Linked DNA regions of Homo sapiens: region 1 is linked to region 2. Evidence: promoter capture Hi-C in human tissues and cell types (Jung and others, 2019). All regions are on one chromosome and are shown on one strand. The core of a region is centred on a gene start or on the middle of the fragment in contact, and the rest is flanking DNA. Distances in the headings are between cores, read along the strand shown.

Region 1 (5,638 bases), core at 458-2,957, 660 kb before region 2:
GATCCTCATTACCTGTAGAATAAAACTTAATCTCCCCTAAGAAATCCTCCACAAGCTGGCTCTTGCCTGCTTTGCCAGATACCTCTTTCCCCACAGAAGGGTCCCCTCCTTCCCTAGCACTACTCATGCTGAACTATTTGCAGACCTGAATATTCTGTTCTTTTTAATGCTTTCTGTTCCTGGAATTACCGTTTTTCCAGCTTTGGAATTCATCTTTAAGGATTCTTAAATCACCTGTTAGTAAAGCCTTTTCTGATAGCACTTCTCTTTCAAGTAGAATTGATGTTTCTTACTGAGTACTCCTTCTTCCCTAATATGAATTTTTTTCATCGTCCTTGTAACCTTTTATTGTACTTAACTTGTCTAGAAGTTTTTATAGCAAAACTGTGACCCGTGTGAAGACAGGGGCTCTTTATTGTATTTCTAGCACAGTCCTTGGCATATGGTCTGCCCCTGCCCTACACCCATCTTAGAAATGCAGTGAATACTATACATTTCACTGACCACATTGTCCTCCTTTAATCTGAGGAAAATGATCCACATTCTTGTTCATCTAACTTTCAGTGCCTCCTTATTTGGCATACATATCCTATAGGAAAGTGGGAATTCGCACATTTAGTCTGTTTATTTAAAATAAATGAAATCCCTTATATCAAAGGAAATGAAACTCAGGAGAACCTAATATTAACATAATACCTATTGATTTTGTGTTTTGATATTTTCTGTTTGTTACGTTTCTGAATACAGTGTCAAATTAGTAAGTGTTGCTAATATGTAAAATATGTAATTATTTGATAGGTTCCATGGTGATGGCTACTTTGTGAAAAGTGCCAAAATGATCAGCTTTCTGTATCAACCATTCATATCCCTTTTTTCCTAGCCTTCCTTGAATCCAGAAGCTGGCAAACAGCATCAGCCATGCAGACCTATTGGGACACCTTCTGGAGTATGGGGTAGGTAGATTTTGCCATTTTAAAGGCACAACTTTAAAATTTTTTCTTAGCAGGGAGGGGAGCAAAGATTCCTTATCTCTTTTTATCTCTTGTTTCTCATCTCATGCATTTGCCCATGGTAACTAACATCTGACTGTAGCGGGTTATTCTGCCCCCTACCCCACCGCCCAACCCCCAAACACCACTGAAATGTTACCATGGTAGTAGAGTCAAAATACAGACAACTGAGAACTTATAGAACCGTGAATTTGGAAGCAGTTGTTTTGGTGGTGTTTGTTAGTCTGTTTGTTTGAGACAGTCTCATTCTGTTGCCCAGGCTGTAGTGCAGTGGCGCAATCTCAGCTCACTGCAGCCTCCACCTCCCTAGCTGGGACTACACCATGCCTGGCTAATGTTTGTATTTTTAGTCCAGACAGGGTTTTACCATGTTGATCAGGCTTGTCTTGAATTCTTGGCCTCAAGTGATCCACCCATCTTGGCCTCCCAAAGTGCTGGGATTACAGGCATGAGCCACCGTAGCCAACATGGAAGCAGATTTTAAGTAGAAAAAGTTCATGAAAAGTAACTTAATTAACATTGCTACTTCACTTACTTTTTTTTTTTTTTTTTTTTGAGATGGAGTCTCACTCTGTTGCCAGGCTGGAGTGCGGTGGCGAGATCTCAGCTCACTGCAACCTCAGCCTCCCGGATTCAAGCTTTTCTCCTGCCTCAGCCTCCTAAGTAGCTGGGAATACAGGCCTATGCCACCACGCCCGGCTAATTTTTGTTATTTAGTAGAGATGGGGTTTCACCATGTTGGCCACGATGGTCTCGATCTCTTGACCTCATCATCCGCCTGCCTCGGCCTCTCAAAGTGCTGAGATTACAGGCGTGAGCCACCATACCCAGCCCATAACAATATATTCTTAAACATTCATATATATGTATGTTTAAATATTCGTGTGTGTGTGTGTGTGTGTGTGTGTTTATGTGTATGTGTGTGTATATATATGTTTGTGGTTTTTTGTTTTGTTTTGTTTTGTTTTTTGAGACAGAATCTCACTCTGTCGCCCAGGCTAGAGTGCAGTGGTGCGATAGGAATCTGTATTTCAAACCAAACCTCATCTGTGGCATTGGGATCTTTGGCATTTACAAATTGGACTCTCCTGGTTTCTTCATTAGACATGTTGATAGCCAAGAACATGGGAAGTCTTTAACATATCTAAATGATGGGTTTAGAATCCAGTATTGTAGGATTAAGATTGATCGATGTACCTTCTCCTCTTTGCTAATGGTGTATACCTTTGCTCCAGTTTGCCTCATCAGAGGGTTTCATGGCAGACTCCAATCCCTGATTACCTCATCTCTCTATTCTCATGCTGACAGGAGCTGCTACTTTTAGGTGTTTTTTTTTGTTTTGTTTTTGTTTTTTTGAGTTAGGGTCTGACTTTGTCATCCATGCTGGAGTGCAGTGGCACAGTCATGGCTCGCTGCAGCCTCGACCTGGGCTCAAGTGATTCTCCCGCCTCAGCCTCCTAAGTAGCTGGGACCACAGGTGTGCACCACCATGCCTGGCTAATGTTTGTATTTTTTGTAAAGATGGGGATTTGCCACAGGGTTTGCCAGCCCAGGCTGGTCTCGAACTCTTGGGACTCAAGTGATCTGCCCACCTCAGCACCTCCAAGTGCTGAGATTACAGGCATGAGCCACAGTGCCTGGCGCTTGGATTTATTCTTGTTGGGTTCATGCTTAACTGATCACACTGTCCATCAGACATATTGTGCCCCTGAAGGACTGCTAACATCTTTGGACTTCCTGGCTGATTTATAAATTTAGTATCCAGTTCCTCATATGCTGCATTTTTTTGTACAGTTCCTGAGTAGTCTCACTTTTGAGAGTATCTATTAAGTGCATACCAGGGAATGTTTAATCCCTCTGTCTCAACTGTCAGCTGTTTTGTTGACTAAGGCCTTTGTATAAACTATGCTTCATGTTACACAACAGGTTTGACATTCTGTTGTCTCTCCACTCTTGTACTTCACAGAAAACCCGCCTAGTGCCAAGCAACCCTCCAAGATGCTAGTTATCAAAAAAGTTTCCAAAGAGGATCCTGCTGCTGCCTTCTCTGCTGCATTCACCTCACCAGGATCTCACCATGCAAATGGGAACAAATTGTCATCCGTGGTTCCAAGTGTCTATAAGAACCTGGTTCCTAAGCCTGTACCACCTCCTTCCAAGGTATGATTTAGAATCAGGGCAAGAACCTTATACAAGAGAGGTTTGGGAATAAATCAGGAAAAAATTAATAAATTTGTTTTTTCTTGCCGCATCAGTCACCAGATATTCTTTCAGTACCTGTTATATGTATACAGCTTTCTTTGCTTTTTTTTTTTTCTTTTTCTTTATTTTTTTGAGACAAGGTCTCACTCTGTCACCCAGGCTGGAATGCAGTGGCACAATCATGGCTCAGTGTGACCTCAGCCTCCCAAGTAGCTGAAACTACAGGGGCACGCCATTATGCCCGGCTATTTTTTTTATTTATTTTATTTTTTGTTTTGTTTTGTTTTTTTGAGATGGAGCCTCGCTCTGTCACCCAGGCTGGAGTGCAGTGGCACGATCTCAGCTCACTGCAAGCTCCACCTCCTGGGTTCACACCATTCTTCCTCAGCCTCCCGAGTAGCTGGGACTACAGGCGCCCGCCACCACACCCGGCTCGGTGTTTTTTTGTATTTTTAGTAGAGACGGGGTTTCACCGTTGTTAGCCAGGATGGTCTCAATCTCCTGACCTCGTGATCCGCCCGCCTCGGCCTCCCAAGGTGCTGGGATTACAGGCGTGAGCCGCCACGCCCAGCCATTTTTTTTTTTTTTTTTTTAATTATTTTTTGTAGAGACAGAATCTCATTTTGTTGCCCAGGCTGGTCTCTATCTCCTGGCCTCAAGGAATCCTCCTGCCTCAGCCTCCCAGAGCGCTGAGATTATGGGCGTGAGCCACCACACCTGGCCCCTCTGGTTTTCTGTAATAGCAACAACATCCTAATCACTCAGCTTGACTATCTTGGCTACTTCTCTTCTCTTCCTCCTTAGTCATTCTCCTCAGCCAAGGAATTACAAAGTCCCTGTTATTCTCTCTATGCTGTCCTTGTTCAGGACTTTGTCTTCTCACATTTACTGTTCTAGTATACCTTTCTATTTTCTCATGTCTCTGTGTCCTACAGAACTGCCAGAATGATCATTCCAAAAACAATTGAATATATCACATGCCTTCCTGAATTCCTTCAGTGGCTCCAAACAATGTATGGCAGGGATTGGTAATTTTTTTCTATGAAGGGCCAGATAATAAATATTTTAGGCTTTGCTTGATATATATGATTTTTGTTACACATTGCCTTTTTTTTTTCCAGCTCTTTAAAAATGTAAAAATAAGTATGAGCTCATGAATCATACAGAAATGCCTTGGTCAAGATTTGGCCCATGGGTCATAGTGTGCTAGTCCTATAGTCAGTGTGCAGAGTAAGCAGAGGTCTGTGAAGTTTCTCATAGCCAAACTCTAATCCATCTTTTGCATCTTATTGCCCCTTTTTTCTCTTACCCGGGAAGAAATTATTCTTCTGGCGCATGCCATCCTCTCTGTGAATAATTTTCTTTCTTTTCTTTCATCTATTTATTTAAAATAGTGATTGGGGTCTCACTATATTGCCCAGGCTGGTCTCGAACTTCTGGGCTCAAGCCATCCTCCCACCTTGACCTCACAAAGTGCTAGGATTACAGACGTGAGCCACCGTGCTCACCCTCTGAATAAATTCACTGGGAGTTACTATCCTAGTGATAATGATTGGAGTTTTCAAGGTAGATTAGATATACAAGAGAAGAGGATGGAAGAAGAGAAGAGGATAGAAGAGGAGTAAAGAATGGGATAGTACTGAGAAACTAGTTCAGAAAAAAATGGTAAACTCTCACAGAAATACAAGTGGGTGAGTTTGCAATAGCAACAGGGGTAACAAGTTGAGGAAAATAACTGAGAAAAAACCTTAGTGATTATCTTAGGAGACTTTTGAGTTGATGTTTTTAGGGAATAAAGTAGGGCTGAAACAGTATTTCAAGGGCTTTTGGAAATATGTGGAGGTAGTGGCACCTTTTAACCTTGACAGTAAAAGGAACTAGATAGAATATAGGCAGTGGAAAAGATAAGTGAATGGATGAGGAAGTCTGTTGGAAGAAGCCACTGGAAGCAACTTGAACTGTACTTGGAAGAGATCATTAAAGGATTATGGGCCAAGAAGAAATATGTGGGAATAAAACTAATTGACAAGTACAGTTATCTTTGAAAAGGGTTTAGGATACTTAGGGTTTATTTTCCTCTGATGTAGAAGGGAAAGAATGTGAATTCAAGTGAAGAGAGCAACTATTACAAAGAAACAGCTGAGCATGGAAGTTAACTGCCGGGCTATGGAATAGACAGATTTCACCTTACACCTTCTTCATCTTACGTCCTTGAGCAAGTTTCTTCACTTCCCAGTCTCAGTTTCTTCTTCTATAAAATAGACATAACAATGCCCCCCTTTTTTTTGTGAGGAGTAAATGAGAAAATTTTATGAAATACCTAAAACTGGCATATAATAAGTGCCAATAAATGGTAGCTATTGTTACCAACCTGCCAGCACAACTTATGTTTGTCCCATTTCTTGAGAGTTTATAAAGACTTTCTT
Region 2 (5,129 bases), core at 1,947-4,446:
AGTCCTCCATGGCACATACCTGTAGTCCTAGCTACTTGGGAAGCTGAGGCAAGACGATCGTTGAGCCCAGGAGTTTGAGTCCAGCCTGGGCAGCATAAGCTGACCTCATTTCTAAAAATAAATGAATAAATATTGTTGAATGAAGTCAAGCTCCTTTATTTTTATTACAGAAATCATGCTCTACCTTTTAACTGGCAGGAAGCTAAAGCAACTCAAGATTTAAGAGATGAATCAGGCTGGGCACGGTGGCTCACGGCTGTGTCCCAGCACTTTGGGAGGTCGAGGCGAACAGATCACGAGGTCAGGAGTTCAAGACCATCCTGGCCTATCTGATGAAACCCCTTGTCTACTAAAAATACAAAAATTAGCCAGGCGTGGTGGCGCATGCCTGTAGTCCCAGCTACTCGGGAGGCTGACGCAGGAATCACTTGAACCCAGGAGGCAGAGGTTGCAGTGAGCCAAGATTGTGCCACTGAACTCCAGCCTGGTGACAGAGTGAGACTGTCTCAAAAAAAAAAAAAAATTAATTAATCGAAAAAAAAGGAAGCTTTCAAAAGATTAGGAAATTGCAGGAATGCATGGGAAAAAGAGAATGGCCATTGGTCCTGTTATCTAGTGCAACTTGATAAACCACTCCAAACCGTAGAGCTTAGAACAACAATTATTTTATTATCTATTCGTCATTTTTTAATATTTATTTTATTTACTTAGAGATCCTGTCTCTTTGTTACCCAGGCTGAAGTGCAGTGATACCATATTGGCTCACTGCCACCTCTGCCTCTTGGGCTCCAGCGATCCTCCTGCCTCAGCCTTCCAAGTAGCTGGAACCCCACAGCGCGGCACCACACCTGACTAATTTTTGTATTTTTAGTAGAGAGGGTGTTTCACTACGTTGCCCAGGCTAGTCTCGAACTCCTGGGCCCAAGGGATCCATCCGCCTCACTTCCTAAACTTCTGGGATTACAAGCGTGAGCCACCGCACCTGGCCTATTATTGTTTTGTTAAAAGCAGGGTCTCGGCTTTGCAAATGCAGCCACCGACGCCAGGAGCTCTGTACGATCAGCCATGGTTAACCCCACCGTGTTCGACATCGCTGTCGACGGCAAGCCCTTGGGCCGCGTGTCCTTCGAGCCGTTTGCAGACAAGGTTCCAAAGGCAGCAGAAAACTTTCGTGCTCTGAGCAATGTAGAGAAAGGATTTGGTTATAAAGGTTCCTGCTTTCACAGAATTATTCCAGGGTTTATGTGTCAGGGTGGTGACTTCACATGCCATAATGGCACTGGTGGCAAGTACACCTGCGGGGAGAAATTTGATGACGAGAGCTTCGTCCTAAAGCATACACATCCTGGCATCTTGTCCATGGCAAATGCTGGACCCAACACAAATGGTTCCCAGTGTTTCATCTGCACTGCCAAGACTGAGTGGCTGGATGGCAATCCTGTGGTCTTTGGCAAGGTGAAAGAAGGCATGAATATTGTGGAGGCCATGGGGCACTTTGGGTCCGAGAATGGCAAGACCAGCAAGAAGATCACCATTGCTGACTGTGGACAACTCTAACAAGTTTGGCTTTTGTTTTATCTTAACCACCAGACCATTCCTTTTGTAGCTCAGAAGAGCACCCCTTCACCCCATTTGCTTGCAGTATTTTTTTTTTTTTTTTTTTTTGAGACGCTGTCTCACCCTGTCGCCCTCTCCCAGGCTGAAGTGCAGTGGCACGATCTCGGCTCACTGCAACCTCCACTTCCCGGGTTCAAGCAATTCTCTTTCCTCAGCCTCCCGAGTAGCTGGGACTACAGGCGCACGCCGCCATGCCTGGCTAATTTTTTCTTTCTTTCTTTCTTTCTTTTTTTTTTTTTTTTTGTATTTTAGTAGAGACGGGGTTTCACCATGTTGCCCAGGCTGATCTTGAACTCCTGAGCTCAGGCAATCTGCCTGCCTCGGCCTCCCAAAGTGCTAGGATTACAGACGTGAGCCACCACGCCCGGCCTGCTCGCAGTATCTTATCTTTGTGCTCTTGCTGCAGTTCCCTTTGGGTTCCATGTTTTCCTTGTTCCTTTCCATGCCTAACTGGATTGCTGAGTTAAGTTTATGATTATGAAATAAAAACTAAATTAAAAAAAAAAAACAGGGTCTCACTCTGTCGTCTAGGCAGGAGGAGTGCAGTGGCCCGATCATAGCTCACTGCAGCCTCGAACTCCTGGGCTCAAGCGATCCTCCCGTTTCAGCCTCCTGAGCAGCTGGGACTACAGGCACACACTACCATGCCCAGCTAATTTTTACTTTTGTAGAGACTGGAGGCTCTCTCGCACAGGCTGGTCTTGAACGCCCGGTTTCAAGCAATCCTCCCACCTCGGCTTCCCAAATTGCGGAGATTACAGGCATGAGCCACCATGCCCAGCCGCCCCCAGTTTTGATGGCTAAAGTTAACGTGAGTGGCCCTGTTACAAATAGGAAGTCCCGGGCCGGGCGCGGTGGCTCACGCCTGTAATCCCAGCACTTTGGGAGGCCGAGGCGGGCGGATCACGAGGTCAGGAGATCGAGACCATCCTGGCTAACACAGTGAAACCCCCGTCTCTACTAAAAATACAAAAAAATTAGCCGGGCATGGTGGCAGGCGCCTGTAGTCCCAGCTCCTCGGGAGGCTGAGGGAGGAAAATGGCGTGAACCCGGGAGGCCGAGCTTGCAGTGAGCCGAGATCGCGCCACTGCACTCCAGCCTGGGCGACGCAGAGCGAGACTCCGTCTCAAAAAAAACAAAAAACAAACAACAACAACAACAACAACAAAAACAAATAGGAAGTCCTGGCAACCCCTGCAGGGGCATTCGGTGATTTTTTTCACTAGCTAGCCAAAATTGCGGCTCCCAATGAGCTTTCTTTCACCGAATGTACTCGAAGCCAGGTCTTAGACTTACTCCCTGAGGAAAGAGGCTGAGTTGTTCCGTCTGGGTTCCCGGCACCCTGCACTGGGAGGAATACTCAAAAGGCGTTGGTAATGTGTTAATGGACAGAGGGACACACGTGTCGAATGCTCCTCGGTGGCCCCGCCCCCTCCGGCCCGCCTTCCCTCCTCTCCGCTGAGTGTGCTTCCCCTCCGTCATCCATCGCTCGGCGGTCTTCTCTTCTCCATGGGTCTGCTCTGCGCGTTCCATCGAGTTTCTCGGCCATCGCGCGCCTGCGCCATTGGGCTGTCAGTCAGAGGCGGCGTGGAGATCGCTGGGAGCGGTTGCGGCGTGCCGGGAGCTGAGTTATAGCTGTGACTTCTGCCCTGCCAGGCCGCACACAAGCTGGCTGACCCGGGTGAGCAGTGCGGTGGGGCCACTCATCTGAGGGAGGCGGGCATGTCGAACTGGGCCGAGGTGGACCCGAAGGGGTAGGAGAGGGTGCTGAGCCCCGAAGTTGTCAGCTCGACTCCCTGCTCGACCCGGTGTAGCTGTGTCCGAAGTAGAAGGGAGGTTGGGGATGAGAATCCGAGCCAACCACCTTATGCAACAGATGGAGGAACTAAGTTTCTAATCTCAGCTACTCGAGAGTCTGAGGCAGGAGAATCGTTTGAACCCAGGAGGTGGAGGTTGCAGTGAGCCTAATTCGCGCCACTGCACTCCAGCCTGGGCAACATAGTGAGACTCTCCGTTTCAAAAAAAAAAAAAAAAAGAAAAGAAAAGAAAGAAACGAAGTTTCGGGGAGGGTTCTGCTTAAAGTCACAGCGAGTGAGCGAGCACCAGACCGGTACCAGACGCCTTTAGCACTGTGCCTGCACTCTTTCAGCCTCAGCCCTTCATTCATTTGTTCAGCCTGCCTTTAGTTGTTTGGATGCAGGGCAGTGAAATATAGGGAGGAGCAGTGAGGTCTCTGCCTTCAGGCAGCACACGTGGAATGACAGACCAATTCTGATACAGTTTTCTTATCTATTTACAACTGGAAAAGGCATGAGTGCTATGATGCAGGCAAGTCTGAGATGCGGTGAACACCCTCTCCAAAGCTTGGGAGGCAGCGAGACTCGTTGCCATGATTCCCGTCAGCCATAGTCGTGGCAGTGACATGAGCATTTGACAGTCTGCCTGGTAGCATGATTAGTTATGTTCATGATTACTATTCATGCTTCCTAGGTTGCCTTTCTTCACCCAGGGCCTCCTTGAGAGCTGGAACCTCAGTTCCTAGTGACCTGGGTTCTAATGCCCTTATGCACATGTTTGAGTTTGACTCTTATACAGTTGTGAAGTTCACAGGTCCTCATTCCACTTTGATTTCTGGCATCTGACTGGGAATACAGTGATGATGCACACACAGTCCAAGAAAGTCACTCTTACACTCTTATGTAGACATTTAAGAGACATTAATGTTACACTTAAGTAGACATTTAAACACATACGTGCAATGAAACCCGTAAAGGCTAAGAGAATCTGCACATGGCAGAATGGAAGCACTTCGGGAAAAGGAGTCACTTCTGGAGGGGTGGGAACGGTTAGGAATGGCTTTGTAGGCAAGAGGATTCTTGAGCTGTCTTCAAAGTTTAATAGGTGATTACTAGACACAAGAGAAAGGCAGACTAGGAAGCAACAGTAGCAGTGCAGAGACCAGAATTATGAAGCAGCATGGCTCAATTAGTACGAAGGTTTTCCATAATCTAGTCTCTGTCTAGTAAAGCAAATACAAATATAGTGCTTCTCATAAGATGGACATTATTGGCCGGGCGCGGTGGCTCACGCCTGTAATCCCAGCACTTTGGGAGGCCGAGGCGGGTGGATCATGAGGTCAGGAGATCGAGACCATCCTGGCTAACAAGGTGAAACCCCGTCTCTACTAAAAATACAAAAAATTAGCCGGGCGCGGTGGCGGGTGCCTGTAGTCCCAGCTACTCGGGAGGCTGAGGCAGGAGAATGGCGTGAACCCGGGAAGCGGAGCTTGCAGTGAGCCGAGATTGCGCCACTGCAGTCCGCAGTCCGGCCTGGGCGACAGAGCGAGACTCCGTCTCAAAAAAAAAAAAAAAAAAAAGATGGACATTATTTTGTCTGCTTTACGTAGAATAACAAATTTAATCTTAACAACAACTCTGTGAAGTGAAACTATAATTATCCCCATCATAAAATGCAAAAATTGAGGCATAGAAAATTTACGTAGTTTGCCCTAG

The links. The method cuts DNA at HindIII sites, captures the fragments that hold promoters and counts their contacts. A contact is called where the count stands out against the background at its distance.
Region 1: a contact is called between a fragment that was not itself captured here and the fragment with the promoter of EIF2B3 in region 2, in 1 of the 25 tissues and cell types used here (spleen).

Annotation. Positions count from the first base shown.
Region 1 is chr1:45,637,742-45,643,379 of GRCh38, reverse strand. It overlaps GPBP1L1 (GC-rich promoter binding protein 1 like 1), which reads left to right. Exons shown (of 13, transcript NM_021639.5): 7 at 881-953; 8 at 2,977-3,170. Among named protein-coding and RNA genes, the nearest start is that of CCDC17, 17 kb to the right of the region's middle. The HindIII fragment of the contact is 4,098 bases long and covers 1-3,756 here.
Region 2 is chr1:44,984,662-44,989,790 of GRCh38, reverse strand. It overlaps EIF2B3 (eukaryotic translation initiation factor 2B subunit gamma), which reads left to right and starts at 3,196. Exons shown (of 12, transcript NM_020365.5): 1 at 3,196-3,298. It also overlaps the pseudogene PPIAP35. RefSeq lists enhancers at 2,853-2,902, 2,613-3,194, 3,153-3,422 and a silencer at 2,973-3,062. The HindIII fragment of the contact is 6,221 bases long and covers 3-5,129 here.